Linked DNA regions of Homo sapiens: all the other regions are linked to region 5. The links are contacts of gene promoters, found by promoter capture Hi-C in blood cells and fetal thymus (Javierre and others, 2016). All regions are on one chromosome and are shown on one strand. Each heading gives the region's core, a stretch centred on a gene start or on the middle of the fragment in contact. The rest is flanking DNA. Distances are from core to core; before and after follow the strand shown. Region 1 holds the start of RPEL1 (ribulose-5-phosphate-3-epimerase like 1). Region 2 has its middle 2.4 kb from the start of INA. Region 3 has its middle 16 kb from the start of NOLC1. Region 4 overlaps PDCD11 (programmed cell death 11). Region 5 holds the start of ARL3 (ARF like GTPase 3).

Region 1 (2,700 bases), core at 199-2,698, 530 kb after region 5:
AGTTCTCTCCAAACTATGTTTCGGGGTTTCTTTTTTGTTTGTTTTCTGTCTCTTGTTTGAGACAGGGCCTCACTCTGTCGCCCAGGCTGGAGTGCAGTGGCGCAATCATGGCTCACTGAAGTCTCAGCCTCCCCGGCTCAAGCAATTCTCCTGCCTCAGCCTCCCGAGTACCTGGGACCACAGGCATGTGCCATCACACAGGCAAATTTTTTACTTTGTAAAAACGGGTTCCTATTATGTTGCCTAGGCTGGTCTCAAACACCTGGGCTCAAGTGATCCTTCTGCATTGGTTTCCTGAAGTGCTGGGATTACAGGCATGAGCCACTGTGCCTGGCCAAACTGTGGTTCTTTGGTAGAATTTCCTGGTTTTAAAAAAAAAAAAAGTGGGCTCTAGTCTTGCCGGGGACTCGTGGGGTAACTTGTTCTTGGGAGCCAGCGGTATGGCGTCGGGCTGCAAGATTGGCCCGTCCATCCTCAACAGCGACCTGGCCAATTTAGGGGCCAAGTGCCTCCAGATGCTAGACTCTGGGGCCGATTATCTGCATCTGGATGTAATGGATGGGCATTTTGTTCCCAACATCACCTTTGGTCACCCTGTGGTAGAAAGCCTTCGAAAGCAGCTAGGCCAGGACCCTTTCTTTGACATGCACATGATGGTGTCCAAGCCAGAACAGTGGGTAAAGCCAATGGCTGTAGCAGAAGCCAATCAGTACACCTTTCATCTCGAGGCTACTGAGAACCCAGGGACTTTGATTAAAGACATTCGGGAGAATGGGATGAAGGTTGGCCTTGCCATCAAACCAGGAACCTCAGTTGAGTATTTGGCACCATGGGCTAATCAAATAGATATGGCCTTGGTTATGACAGTGGAACCGGGGTTTGGAGAGCAGAAATTCATGGAAGATATGATGCCAAAGGTTCACTGGTTGAGGACCCAGTTCCCATCTTTGGATATAGAGGGCGATGGTGGAGTAGGTTCTGACACTGTCCATAAGTGTGCAGAGGCAGGAGCTAACATGACTGTATCTGGCAGTGCTATTATGAGGAGTGAAGACCCCAGATCTGTGATCAACCTATTAAGAAATATTTGCTCAGAAGCTGCTCAGAAACGTTCTCTTGATCGATGAAACCATAAGGAGCCCAATGTTTCTGTTCATGAAATCTCCCTTTTACTGGAAAACAGGAATATTGACTACCAAATCATCATGAAATTGAAGCTGTACTGCTTTTTTGAGCAGTTATTCATTCCAGTGATTAAAACTGATTGTGCAGAATATTCTAAGAGGTCAGAAATTGGTGTGTATAACTACATTTTTAGTGATGCAATTTAATGATTAGTGAGTAAGATACTGTTTTTATTGAGAGACTTGATTTTTATAAAGAGTAAAAATACGGCTGCATTAAGGTTACAAACAGAAAAGTGTCTTAATGCCTAAGGAGGGCATATTAGCTACACTACAAAAACAAATTTTGTCTGTACTTCTGAAAAGAATTTTGTTGTTTCTCAGCTGTTTTCCAAAAGCAAAGGAAGTCTTTATGGCTTTTTTCTATTTCATGTTATTTGTGATTTGTTTATAAGTTTGGGTGGGATGGCATACCATATTCTTGGTTCTTAAAATCTATCACTTTTCACCTTACACTTAATGTGTAAAAACTATAAAAACAATGCGTGAAACCCAGGGGTTCTAAAATACAAGCATAGATTTTATCAGGGTGTTTTTGTCAAAGCAGGTTATTCAGTGATTCCTCCCCACCATTCTTAAGGACGTTAAATAATGCTGTTGTGTTAGCTCTGAGTAGAAAGGAAAAAGTAAAAACCTCTGTATGGAAGTAATATTGGGTTGAATTCTGACTGCCCTTTTCTAGCTGGACCTTTAACAAATCACCCAGTCTTTTTTGTGTTTCTCTGAAGTCATTTATACATTAAATGTAATTATAACAACTGTGGGGTTGTGTTGAGAATTAAGAGGTAACACTATATATGTAAAGTTTCTAGTACTAGTCCCAGAATTTAGAATATGCTCAATACAAAGTAGATAGCATTATATAAGTTTATATTTTTGTGAGTTATAAAGTACTTTGATATATTCTCATTAAATCTGTAAATCACCTCTATAAGTAAGTGGTAATAATAAAGCAGATATTTTTGTCCCCATTTAAAAAAAAAAAAAAGTGTTCCCTAACAGTTTCCAGAGCACGAGCTGAAGGGATTGACGGGCTCCTCAAAGGCTATACACTTTTCATGGCCTTGTCTCTTCCAGGTACAGTGCTGGCTACTTTTACATATATGTTGTCAACAAATCCTCAGGATAATTCTAAGGCAATTCTACTGCAAATGAGATACTATCTTAATTTACAGTTGACAAAAACTGAGTCTCAGGAAGGTTGCCTGACCTGCTCAAGGTCATATAGCTAGTAAGGGTGCAGTATAGGTTCGAACCCACCTGCCTGATTACGTCTCCCATGCCAACTCCTATCCATTGGTAGCACCTGCCTGAAACAGTGACTTGAGAAAGAATTCCTAGGTTTTGAATTCTTAATTATTGAATTAAGAGGGTAAAGTGCCAGGTTTGATTAGTTGTGGCTGCCATGAGTGAGGAATGGTGAGTGGTGATGTACAAGCCTGGTATTTGCCATTTTCCCATTACCCCATGCCAGATAGTTCTACAGGAGGCTACTCAACTTGATTCTGAACATGGT
Region 2 (2,700 bases), core at 181-2,680, 560 kb after region 5:
CTGGGCCTGTGGGGTGGGATGCCAAGAAAGAGGAGGCATAAGTCCCACAGGGGAATACCAGTTTGGAATCTCAGATAAGCTGTTGAGAAAATGCAAAATGCATCTTTGCCAGGGCAACTGTCACTCTGCTGAAATATTTAGGCCTTTTGCCTCACTTTCTTCTGTTCTATGTGTGTTTTGCCTTTGGGGTACTGATTCCACTGGAGGATGGGAAGGGAAAGAAAGCGGAACTCCAACCAGGACATTTTGCTGACTTTCAGTAGTAGTAGCCTGGAGACCTGTGCAAGGGTGTGATGGACTATTTCCTGCAATCCCCTCCCTAAACCCAATTCATATCCTGTTGCTGATGGATGTGAAACCGTTCCTTTCATTTGAAAGAGGATGATGATGACCATAACTCTTTATACCTACAGCTTAAAAGCACCTTCACATGCATCAGCTCAAGCTTTCATGACTCTTGGGAGGTAGGTGTTGTTATCCCTACATGCTTAGTAAGTGGCAGAAGCCACAATTCAAACCCATTGCCTCTGACTCTGAGTCCAATGTTCTTTCAATTACAAACCAGCATGCTGATTTGTTATCAGCCAAAACTCTTCCAAAGCCCACTTAGTCCTATTCTGGCTGCACAGAAATATTTTGTTTTTTTGAGACAGTTTCACCCTTGTTGCCCAGGCTGGAGTGCAATGGTGCGATCTTGGCTCACCACAACCTCCGCCTCCCGGGTTCAAGTGATTCTTCTGCCTTGGCCTCCAGAGTAGCTGGGATTACAGGCATGTGCCACCACCCTCAGCTAATTTTGTATTTTTAGTAGAGACAGGTTTCTCCATGTTGGTCAGGCTGGTCTCGAACTCCTGACCTCAGGTGATCCACTCGCCTCGGCCTCCCAAAGTGCTGAGATTACAGGCAGGAGCCACGGCAGCCGGCCGTGCTGCATGGAAATTAACAAGACTTCAAGAGTCTCACTGCAGGCTGGGCGCAGTGGCTGACGTCTGTAATCCCTGCACTTTGGGAGGCCAAGGCAGGTGGATCACCTGAGGTCAAGTTCAAGACGAGCCTGGAAAACATGATGAAACCCCGTCTCTAGTAAAAATACAAAAAATTGGCCAGGCGTGGTGGCTCATGCCTGTAATCCCAGCACTTCGGGAGGCCAAAGCAGGTGGATCACGAGGTCAGGAGTTCAAGACCAGCCTGGCCAACATGGTGAAACCCCATCTCTACTAAAAATACAAAAATTAGCCAGGTGTGGTGGTGGGCACCTGTAATCCCAGCTACTCGGGAGCCTGAGGCAGAGAACTGCTTGAACCCAGGAGGCAAAGGTTGCAGTGAGCCGAGATTGTGCCACTGCATTCCGGCTTGGGCGACAGAGCGAGACTCCATCTCAAAAAAAAAAAAAAATACAAAAAATAGCCAGATGTTGTGGCAGACACCTACCCGCTGACCTGTGGTGAGCCAAGATCACGCTACTGCCCTCCAGCCTGGGCAAGAAGAGCGCAACTCCGTCTCTCTTTTTTTTTTTTTTTTTGATGGAGTCTCGCTCTGTCACCCAGGCTGGAGTGCAGTCGCATGATTTCGGCTCACTAAAACCTCCACCTCCCGAGTTCAAGCAATTCTCCTGCCTCAGCCTCCTGAGGAGCTGGGATTACAGGCCCGTGCCACCACACCCGGCTCATTTTTATATTTTTAATAGAGACAGGGTTTCACCATGTTGGTCAGGCTGGTCTCAAACTCCTCACCTCAAGTGATCCGCCCATCTCGGCCTCCCAAAGTGCTGGGATTACAGGTGTGAGCCACTGCACCCGGCCAACTCCGTCTCAGAAAAAAAAAAAAAAAAAAAAGAGTCTCACTGCACTAAGCAGAATTATGTAGTGAAGAGAGAATGTATGCTTGTCTTTGCTTGCTGGTGACCTTGTGCTGCACCCGCACCTCGGTGCCTTATCTATAAGATGGAGGTGAGGGCCACCTTGAAGCATGGTTCAGAGGTAAACCTATGCAAAAGTGCCAGCACAAGTACTGGCAGACAATCATTACTCAGCAGTGTTAGCAATCTTTTATTGTTCACCTTACCAGGTCTTTCTAAGCCCAAAGACCTCAGAATTGAGTCCCTCCAACTCAAGGCTTTGGTCTGTGATGAGGAACCAGAGGGGCAGGCTGTGGCAGGGCCTGACCATCTTCCATGACATCAAGCACAAAGCCAAGAGATATGCTCCAAAGTCCCATAAGATCCCTTTTCACCCTTCCTTTAGTGGCCTGTCCCAAGCATATTCCCCTTTCCCCATGAAGTAAAACTTATCCTAGAACTACGTCCTTGAAGATTCCAATATCAATAAAAGGCCCTCAGTCTGGAATTCTGGGATATAACTAAAAAGGTCTTCCTACTCCCTCTCCAAAGCCATATCCACATCCTGAATGATATTAGAAGCTTGCAAGTGGGTACATATTACAGACGCCACACTGACCCCTCCCAGCCTTCATCTTTTCAGATTCCATTCTTTGATTCTCACCCCCTGCCCCACCAACCCTACCATGTGGCAGAAGAGGCCGGCTCAGTCACCAGCACTCTCCCCCACTCCTGGAGTTTAATCTTTTTGCAGGGATCTCTTTTCTCCAAAAAGAGATCTGCACAGGGAGTGGCTCTCTGAAGCCAGTTGAGAACCTGCCCTGCTGGATTTACACAAACTGAAATCTCAAATGCCCACAGGG
Region 3 (2,700 bases), core at 149-2,648, 550 kb before region 5:
CAGCCTCAGCCTCTGGGGCTCAAGCAGATACTCTGATCTCAGCCCCCTGAGTAGCTGAGATCCTCCCACCTCAGCCTCCTGAGTAGCTGGGACTACAGTAGTCACTAGGCTTGGCTAGTTGTTTTTTTGTTTGTTTTGTTTTTGTTTTTGTTTTTAATTTTGTTTTGTAGAGACAGGGTCTCCCTGTGTTGCCCAGGCTACTCTCAAACAATCCTCCCACCTCAGCCTCCCAAAGTGCTGGGATTACAGGCGTGAGCCACTGTGCCCAGCCCAGAGTGTACCTTCTGATGTAAAATGAGAATACTGGCTGGGCCTGTAATCCCAGCACTTTGGGAGTCCAAGGCGGGTGGATCACGAGGTCAGGAGATCGAGACTATCCTGGCTACTTGCAGTGAGCTGAGATCGCACCACTGCACTCCAGGCTGGGTGACAGAGCAAGGCTCTGTCTCAAAAAAAGAGAGAATACTATCTCAACTCATTTGTAGATTCTTGACTCTCTCAGAGGCTTGTTGTAAGGACTGAGAATTTAAAGCACTTAGTACAGTCCCTGGCATATTATAAGCACTCCATAACTGCCTCTTGCTCAACAAAAAAAGCTTTGGAAATGATGTTCTTTGGTTTCCTTGTGATGTGCAACATGCCATTTTGGCAAAGGCATCAAGCATATGTTAATGATTATTTCCCTGCAATGGTTTTTTGTTGTTTCACGTTTATCATCTTTATTCCTGATACAAAAATGGATATGTGGAATTGGTCCTATTAGAAACTTCTTAGTTTTGTGAAGAATCTGGAATTCCTACCCCTTGCTGATGGGCTCTGGCACTGAAATCCGCAAATTCAGTCAACCAGACACATGGCTCATGCCCCTCTGCATCATGCTTCATGGACACAGGCAGGAGACTTCCTAATGCCCTGTTGGGGGCTTGCCCTTCGCCCGGTGTAGCCTTACTGCAACCCTGTTAGGTGGGTATCGAGTAGATCATTCCATTTGGGGCCAGGTAAGTCTTTGCTTTTGAGGACTGTCCTGTGTGTTGTAGGATGTGTGGCAGCGTCCCTGGCCTCTAACACTGCATGCCAATAGTTTCCCCTAGTTGTGACAACCAAAAACGGCTCCAGGCATTGCCAAATATTTTCTGGGAAGGAAAATTGCCCCTAGTTGAAAACCACTACGGAAACAGCCCTGAGTATCAAATGATTTACTTAGGGTTGATGAAACTGCAACTTAGTGGCACATTGAGACAAGAACACAGGTCTCTGTATGTCCAAACATGGAGCTACCTGTATTCAATAGTCTTTGTGAACCTGCTATGTACTCGTCATAGAACTCCCAGAGAGCTCAGTGTCTAATGGGGAAAGTCAGGCATGGGAATGGTTTCTGTGCACTGAGCTGAGTTCTGTCCCAAACTGAAGGTCAGAGTAGCACCCCTAAGGGTACAAGCAAGAAAATACTTGGCTTGGCCCGGTGTGGTGGCTCACACCTGTAATCCCAGCACTTTGGGAGGCCGAGGCAGGCAGATCACGAGGTCAGGAGTTCGAGACCAGCCTGGTCAACATAGTGAAACCTCGTCTCTACTAAAAATACAAAAAATTAGCCAGGTGTGGTGGCAGGCGCCTGTAATCCCAGCTACTCAGGAAACTGAGACAGGAGAATCGCTTGAAACCGGAAGGCGGAGGTTGCAGTGAGCCAAGATCGTGCCACTGCACTCCAGCCTGGGCAACAAAGTGAAACTCTGTCTCAAAAAAAAAAAAAAAAAAAAAGAAGAAGAAGAAGAAGAAAAGACTTGGCTGATGGTGGCCTAGGATTCTGAAGACAGCTGCAGTTTGCCAGGAGCGAGAAAAGTGCATACCGTGTAAGGAAGAGTGCCTTTTCCAGTGGGAGAAGAGGGCTGTTAGAATGGGTCAAGCAGAGGTGTGCGGGAGGTGGGGGCAAGATACTGCGAAATTTCACTGAGAGTTCAATGTCAATGGCCTTTTGTACCTAAGTTAGGAATTAGTACTTTATTTTGTCCACCTGAGTATGTTAGGAGATTTGATAGTCTAATACAATACTCCTGGCACTAATCCGGTTGCGGTGAAAGCACTATTTCTGCCGGACCACGAAGTTCTCAAATCCCTCCTGCAGAGCCTGTCTGCAGTTACCGATGGGGCCAGTAGGTGGCGATGTTGCCCCCCTGTTTAGGGAGCTGGGCTGGACTTAAATAGAAGCTTAACTCCTTACTTACTCCAGTGCTATTCAACAAACTTGAAGAGCCGGGCGCAGTGGCTCACGCCTGTAATCCCAGCACTTTGGGAGGCGGAGGCGGGCGGATCACGAGGTCAGCCGATCGAGACCAACCTGGTTAACACAGTGAAACCCCGTCTCTACTAAAAATACAAAAAATTAGCGGGGCGCCGTGGCGGGCGCCTATATAGTCCCAGCTACTCGGGAGGCTGAGGCAGGAGAATGGCGTGAGCCCGGGAGGCGGAGCTTGCAGTGAGCCGAGATAGCGCCACTGCACTCCAGCCTGGGCGACAGAGCGAGACTCCGTCTCAAAAAAAAAAAAAAACACCTTGAAGAGCCCACTGTGAGCCTTTGGATACACAGATGAATAAGACACAGGCCCTCATCTGAGGCTCTTTAGTTTTGGAAATTAGAGAAGGGGTTTTTTGTTTGTTTGTTTGTTTGTTTGTTTTGAGACAGAGTCTCGCTCTGTCGCCCAG
Region 4 (2,700 bases), core at 55-2,554, 680 kb after region 5:
GAAAGTAGCCTAAGTATCTTCTGTGCCCCTGGATCGCCTTACTTTTCAGAGCCTCAGTTTCCCCTTGCTTGAAAGGAAATTAAGGGTGAAATTATCAGCAAACTAGACCCCCCAAACTTTCCTGTTTCTATGAATCATATACCCATCCCTGATTCCATATCCTTGGCCCCACCCGGTCATCACTTCTTTAGTCTAAAGCCCTTGTAGAGTCTTATTACCAAGTGTCTGTCAGAACTAACCTCTCCTGTCTTCTGTTTTCACTTATACCCAGTTCTGGTTCTCATGGTTTCTCTGCTGTACTGCATTTGAATCCTTTTTTTTTTTTTTTTTTTCTGTCACTGAGATAACAGGAAACAGTGCATTTGAATCCTTCTACCGAATTTACTTGCCTTCAATACTGTCTCTCTTCATGTCCAATCTATAGCCTGCAGTATATTTTTCTTGCTTACTGTTCTCTCGCTTTCCCTGCTTAAGTCTCTGACTTGCCAAAGCAAACTACCCATATCTAATTCAAGGTCTTCCACAAAAAAGCCCAACTTCTCCTTTAATTTTTTTGAGACAGAGTCTCACTTTGTCTCCCAGGTTGGAGTGCGGCGGCATGATCTCAGCTCACTGCAACCTCCGCCTCCCGGCCTCAAGCAATTCTCACGCTTCAGCCTGCCTAGTAGCTGGGACTAGGCGCAGGCCACCACGCCCGGCTAATTTTTGCGTTTTTGGTAGAGACGGGGTTTCGCCATGTTGACTATGCTGGTCTCGAACTCCTGACCTCAGATGATCCACGCGCCTCGGGCTCCCGAAGTGCTGGCATTACAGGTGTGAGCCATGGTGCCCGGCCTTCTTTAAAATTTAACTTCAATTTTTATGCTTTAATCTCCCAGTGGTCTAGTTGAATAATTCCTCAGAGACAACAGCAAGCCTTTGAGCAGTTGTTTGATAGGGAAATTGCTGGTGTTTATTGAAATAATAGGCTTTTCCCATCCATGTCTTTTCTCACATTCCCTTTCTACCTGTCAAGCTTCTGTTCATCTTTTACCCTTAAGCTAAAAAAGATCTTCTTTATGAAGCTTGCCTCCTTTACTTATCCCTTCCTACATTGCCTTATCCCTTCCTACATCTTTGTGATCATTTATAATCTGATTTGCATTTTAAGTTACTTGCATAATTGTTTTATCTTCCAAAAAGTGTGCATGTTCTTTGAAGGCAGAGGATTATATATTCATCTGTAGAGCTACAGTGTATCTCTGACTTAACTGTAGCTTCTTAGTGAGTATGTGCTACATTGAATCTATAACTTCTTTTTCTGGAAGAAGGTGGGTGGACTTGTGGTTTTGAAGCAGAGACCTTTGGAAAGATGAAGTATGGATTATTCCGGGCCTGACATCTAAACCATCTATGTTGTAGTCCTGAATGTTGTCTAGCATATTGCTGGAACGTTCTGTCTCTTGCCCGTTGATAACACCTTTCTGAAATCTGCTACCAAGACAACATGTCACCATTATCCTTTGCATTGTTTTTAGGAGACCCAAACATGGCAAACCTGGAAGAAAGCTTCCCCCGAGGAGGTACAAGAAAGATCCACAAACCAGAGAAAGCTTTCCAGCAGTCAGTTGAACAAGACAACTTATTTGATGTAAGTAGTATGCTTGTTTGGTGACACTCACTGGAAACTTTTACTGTAGTGTCTTGTGAAAAATGAGCCTTATTTGAGAATGTGTTATTTTTCCAGATTTTTTTTGCATTGAAGTCTACTTCTATAAATTTAACTCATTTAGAGAGGCCATACCACCACAAGGCTGTATCTTTTGAAGCTTGGCATTTAGTATTAAAGTACTGTTATTAGCTGGGCGTAGTGGCTCATGCCTGTAATCCCAGCAGTTTGGGAAGCCGAGGCAGGCGGATCACTTGAGGCTAGGAATTCAAGAGCAGCCTGGCCAACATGGTGAAACCCCGTCTATACTAATACCAAAACTAGCTGGGCATGGTAGTATACCTGTAGTCCTAGCTACTTGGGAGGCTGAGGCATGAGAATTGCTTGAACCAAGAAGGTGGAGGTTGCACTGACCCAATATTGTGCCACTGCTCTCCTGCCTGGGCGACAGAGTGAGACTCTGTCTCAAAAAACACACAAACAAAATAAATAAAGTGCTGTTCCTTGTTCTTAGACACTCTTTGCCATGTGCCATGTTGATTAAGGATGGAGAGGAAGCAGTTTTTTTTTTTTTTTTTTTTTTGAGACGAAGTCTTACTCTGTTGCCCATGCTGAAGTGCAGTGGCGTGAGTAGCTGGGATTACAGGTGCCTGCTACCATACCTGACTAATTTTTGTATTTTTGTTAGAGATGGGGTTTCACCATGTTGGCCAGGCTGGTCTGAAACTCCTGACCTCAGATGATCTGCTCACCTTGACCTCCCAAAGTGCTGGGATGGCAGGTGTGAGCCACTGCACCCAGCTGATGTTTTTGTTATTTTTGTTGTTGTTTTTTCAAGAGATGGGGAGAGATGATGTTTCACTCTGTTACTCAGGCTGGACTTAAACTCCTGGGCTCAGTCGATCCTCCCTCCTTAGCCTCCTGAGTAACTGGAACAACAGGCATGTTCCACTGTGTCTGACTGATCATTGCATTTTTACAGGGGTTCCTTGCCACATGTAATGGTCAGAATTTGCATTAGACTTCACAGTCTCACCTAGACTAGGCTGTGC
Region 5 (2,700 bases), core at 29-2,528:
GCTCAACATTTCTAAAAGTCAAGAAAGGAACTAGGAAGAGAGTTGGAGCAGTGACTATAAGTTTGATGACAGGCTCTTTGCAGCCAACTAACCTGCTTTAAGTGTTCAAAATCAATTTTTCTTTGATAGCTCTAAAATTACTCAATTCCATTTTAACTCCCTCCAACTAACTGTACAGACATTAACAAGAAACAGAGTGTCAACGGTCAGATCTGTCACAACCATAATTTAGAATTTGGGAAAGCTTTAATTGGGACTGACAGAGAAAAGCCTTGCCCCGGATTGAAGTTCGATCTCCATTTTTAACTTCTCGTTCTTTTCAGTTTGGAGAACTCAAGCTAGGATTAAGATCTTTTGGTCCTGGTATGGTCACACGCAAGAGGAGACTGCAAAAGGTTTCGAAGGAAATTCTAGAGACGGAGCAGCTAATATGTCTTCATCAACATGGATTATGTATTGAATGAAAAATCGGTCATCACCAACAATCAGATCCTGCAAAACTCTCAGCAAATAACTAAATAATTCGGGACTGAGGAAGCGCACCCGCCACGCAGACACCAAGACGGCGTAAAATCCACCAGGCATCCCTTCCAAGCGGCACCCCTTTGTGTCGTGGGACTTACTTCCCTACCCCCCAGGGGCCCGCACAGCGCGAGAAGGAGGAGAGCTAGGCTACCATCTCCCCTGCTACCGCCAGGGCGACCTCAGAGCCAATGGGGCCGGCCTTCTCTCCGCTTCTGGCCGGGCTCCAGACGAACCCCACTTTACTGCAAAGCCGCGAGACCGATTGCCCGGGAAGTCTAAGCCTGCTAGCGAAAGCTGCTCTCCGCAGTTCCTGGGATCCGCCCTCACCCCTGTCCCCAGAGTAATGATGGAGCCCGGGCTCCGCACCCGGCCAGCCGCGCACTCTGCCAGCCCCTTCCCCAAGCCTCGGACCCGCTGCAAGCCCCGCCTTCCTCTCCAGGCCCAGGCCTCCCTCCAGGGCCCACCCTCGGGTCTCCCCGCCGACCCCCGAAATCAGTCCACAACCCAGATAGCAGGCTGAGCGACGTCCCATTCCCTCCTTGGCTTTAAGCGCAGTGCTCCGCCCTGGGCCTGGGGACGGGAGGGGGATAACCGGCCGGCTCCAAGGGGGCCCAGGCCCCCACACTCACCATCCTCCCGCCGAGTCCCTCCTCCTCCTCCTCCTCCTGCTGCCTCCCCCGTTACCAGGGGCAACTGCTGCGGCGCCGCCCCCGACGTCCCTCGCACGCACAGCTGAGGAGCTGAGCAGCAATACGGGGCGGGGTGCAGCTCCGCTTTCCCCAGAGTGCGCAAGTGCGCTAAGGCGCCCGCCCACGCAGTGGGCGGGCTACGGGAGCTGCAGAGGCCGCCGCCGGCTCGCCTGGACCAGGGAGTGGAGAAAGCCTGCCCACGTGGCTGGCGGGAGCCTCCCGGCCTGGGATTGGTCGAAAAGGAGGGGCGTGGGGCGGGCGTGGGGGCAGTTCCCCAGCCCAGGTCCTCCTCTCACCCGGGCCAGTTTTCAAGGCGGGCTGTAACTGGTGGCATTTGTCCCGGGACCAGGTAAGGGGCCTTGGGACAATGGCGCTCGCCCTGTCTACCTCCAATCCCCACATCTCGGGTGGGTGCTGAGATTGCTGTCCTGACTGCCCAGGCGGGGCTGCAGCGCGGGCTGGACTTCCACCTGCAGAAGCCACGTGGCGCGAAGTGCGCCCTGGGGCTGCAGATGGGCCCCTCTGCTCTGACCCCCATTGCCTAGGAGTGCCAGGCCGAGCGGCTGGGGCGTTACGAGCTGTCCGGGATGGGGGAGTACCGATGGGGGGAGGCCGTCTGTCGGAGGGCAAGAAGCAGCCTGGGGGCTGGCCCTGAGCCCTGAGGTGAGCTGAAAGCACAGGTGAAAGGCGTTTTGGGGATCGGCCCGGTTTTTGTTTTGACACAGGGTGTCGCTCTGTCGCCCGGGCCGGAGTGCGGTGGCGCGATCTCGGCTCACTGCAGCCTTTGCCTCACAGGCTTAAGCGATTCTCCCGCCTCAGACTCTCGAGTAGCTGGGATTGCAGGCGGGCGCCACCACGCCTGGATAATTTTTTGTATTTTGTTTTTGTAGAGACGGAGTTTCGCCATGTTGCCCAGGCTGGGCTCGAACTCCTGGGGTCAAGCCATCCGCCCGCCTAGGCCTCCCAAAGTGCTGAGACTACAGGTGTTCCAAAGTGGTGAGCCACTGTGCCCAGCCTCTGGCCGGTTTTGCTAAGCTGCTTTGGACAGGACCGCGTACCATCTGTAGTCCTGGAGGAGGCAAAAATGAGCCTGCATTTTTAGCCAAGGAAGAGCAAGTGGGACACTGGGGTGGGTTGGGAAGTGCTACCTCCCATCCCTTTCCCGATGCAGAGGACTATAAGAAGAGTTTACACAAACGTGCTAGGCCCTGTTCTAGACGCTGGAGACACAGCAGTGGACAAAATCAGCCCGTATGGAAATTACATCCTTCCTAATGAAATACATTTCATACCAAATTTCATTTTCACAACCCCTAGAAATTGGTAATTGCGGCCAGGCGCAGTGGCTCATGCCTATAATCCCAGCACTTTGAGAGGTGGAAGGGGAGGAAGGCTTGAGCCCAGGAGTTGGAGACCAGCCCGGGCAACACAGTAGGACCCTGCCTCTACAAAAAAAAATTTTTTTTAATTAGCCAGGTTCCGTGGC

Evidence for each region. Contacts are between HindIII fragments. The CHiCAGO score rates a contact against its expected background, and 5 or more counts as called.
Region 1: a fragment that was not itself captured here is called in contact with the fragment with the promoter of ARL3 in region 5 in 1 of 17 cell types (neutrophils); the score reaches 6.8 in neutrophils.
Region 2: a contact is called between a fragment that was not itself captured here and the fragment with the promoter of ARL3 in region 5, in 1 of 17 cell types (endothelial precursors). The highest score is 5.2, in endothelial precursors.
Region 3: a fragment that was not itself captured here is called in contact with the fragment with the promoter of ARL3 in region 5 in 1 of 17 cell types (total CD8 T cells); the score reaches 5.3 in total CD8 T cells.
Region 4: a contact is called between a fragment that was not itself captured here and the fragment with the promoter of ARL3 in region 5, in 2 of 17 cell types (fetal thymus and erythroblasts). The highest score is 7.2, in fetal thymus.

Annotation. Positions count from the first base shown.
Region 1 is chr10:103,245,557-103,248,256 of GRCh38, forward strand. RPEL1 (ribulose-5-phosphate-3-epimerase like 1) reads left to right here and starts at 331. Exons shown (of 1, transcript NM_001143909.1): 1 at 331-2,460. The coding sequence starts at 441. The coding sequence ends at 1,127. The HindIII fragment of the contact is 5,051 bases long and covers 1-2,700 here.
Region 2 is chr10:103,273,403-103,276,102 of GRCh38, forward strand. No RefSeq gene overlaps it. Among named protein-coding and RNA genes, the nearest start is that of INA, 2.4 kb to the right of the region's middle. The HindIII fragment of the contact is 1,974 bases long and covers 444-2,417 here.
Region 3 is chr10:102,167,447-102,170,146 of GRCh38, forward strand. No RefSeq gene overlaps it. Among named protein-coding and RNA genes, the nearest start is that of NOLC1, 16 kb to the left of the region's middle. The HindIII fragment of the contact is 1,609 bases long and covers 595-2,203 here.
Region 4 is chr10:103,396,899-103,399,598 of GRCh38, forward strand. PDCD11 (programmed cell death 11) reads left to right here. Exons shown (of 36, transcript NM_014976.2): 2 at 1,518-1,630. The coding sequence starts at 1,529. Among named protein-coding and RNA genes, the nearest start is that of PDCD11, 1.6 kb to the left of the region's middle. RefSeq lists enhancers at 212-713, 714-1,214. The HindIII fragment of the contact is 484 bases long and covers 1,063-1,546 here.
Region 5 is chr10:102,713,119-102,715,818 of GRCh38, forward strand. ARL3 (ARF like GTPase 3) reads right to left here and starts at 1,279. Exons shown (of 6, transcript NM_004311.4): 1 at 1,155-1,279. The coding sequence starts at 1,157. It overlaps SFXN2 (sideroflexin 2), which reads left to right and starts at 1,518. Exons shown (of 12, transcript NM_178858.6): 1 at 1,518-1,563. RefSeq lists silencers at 939-1,038, 1,079-1,128, 1,196-1,590, 1,409-1,558 and enhancers at 1,344-1,920, 1,921-2,496. The HindIII fragment of the contact is 3,072 bases long and covers 243-2,700 here.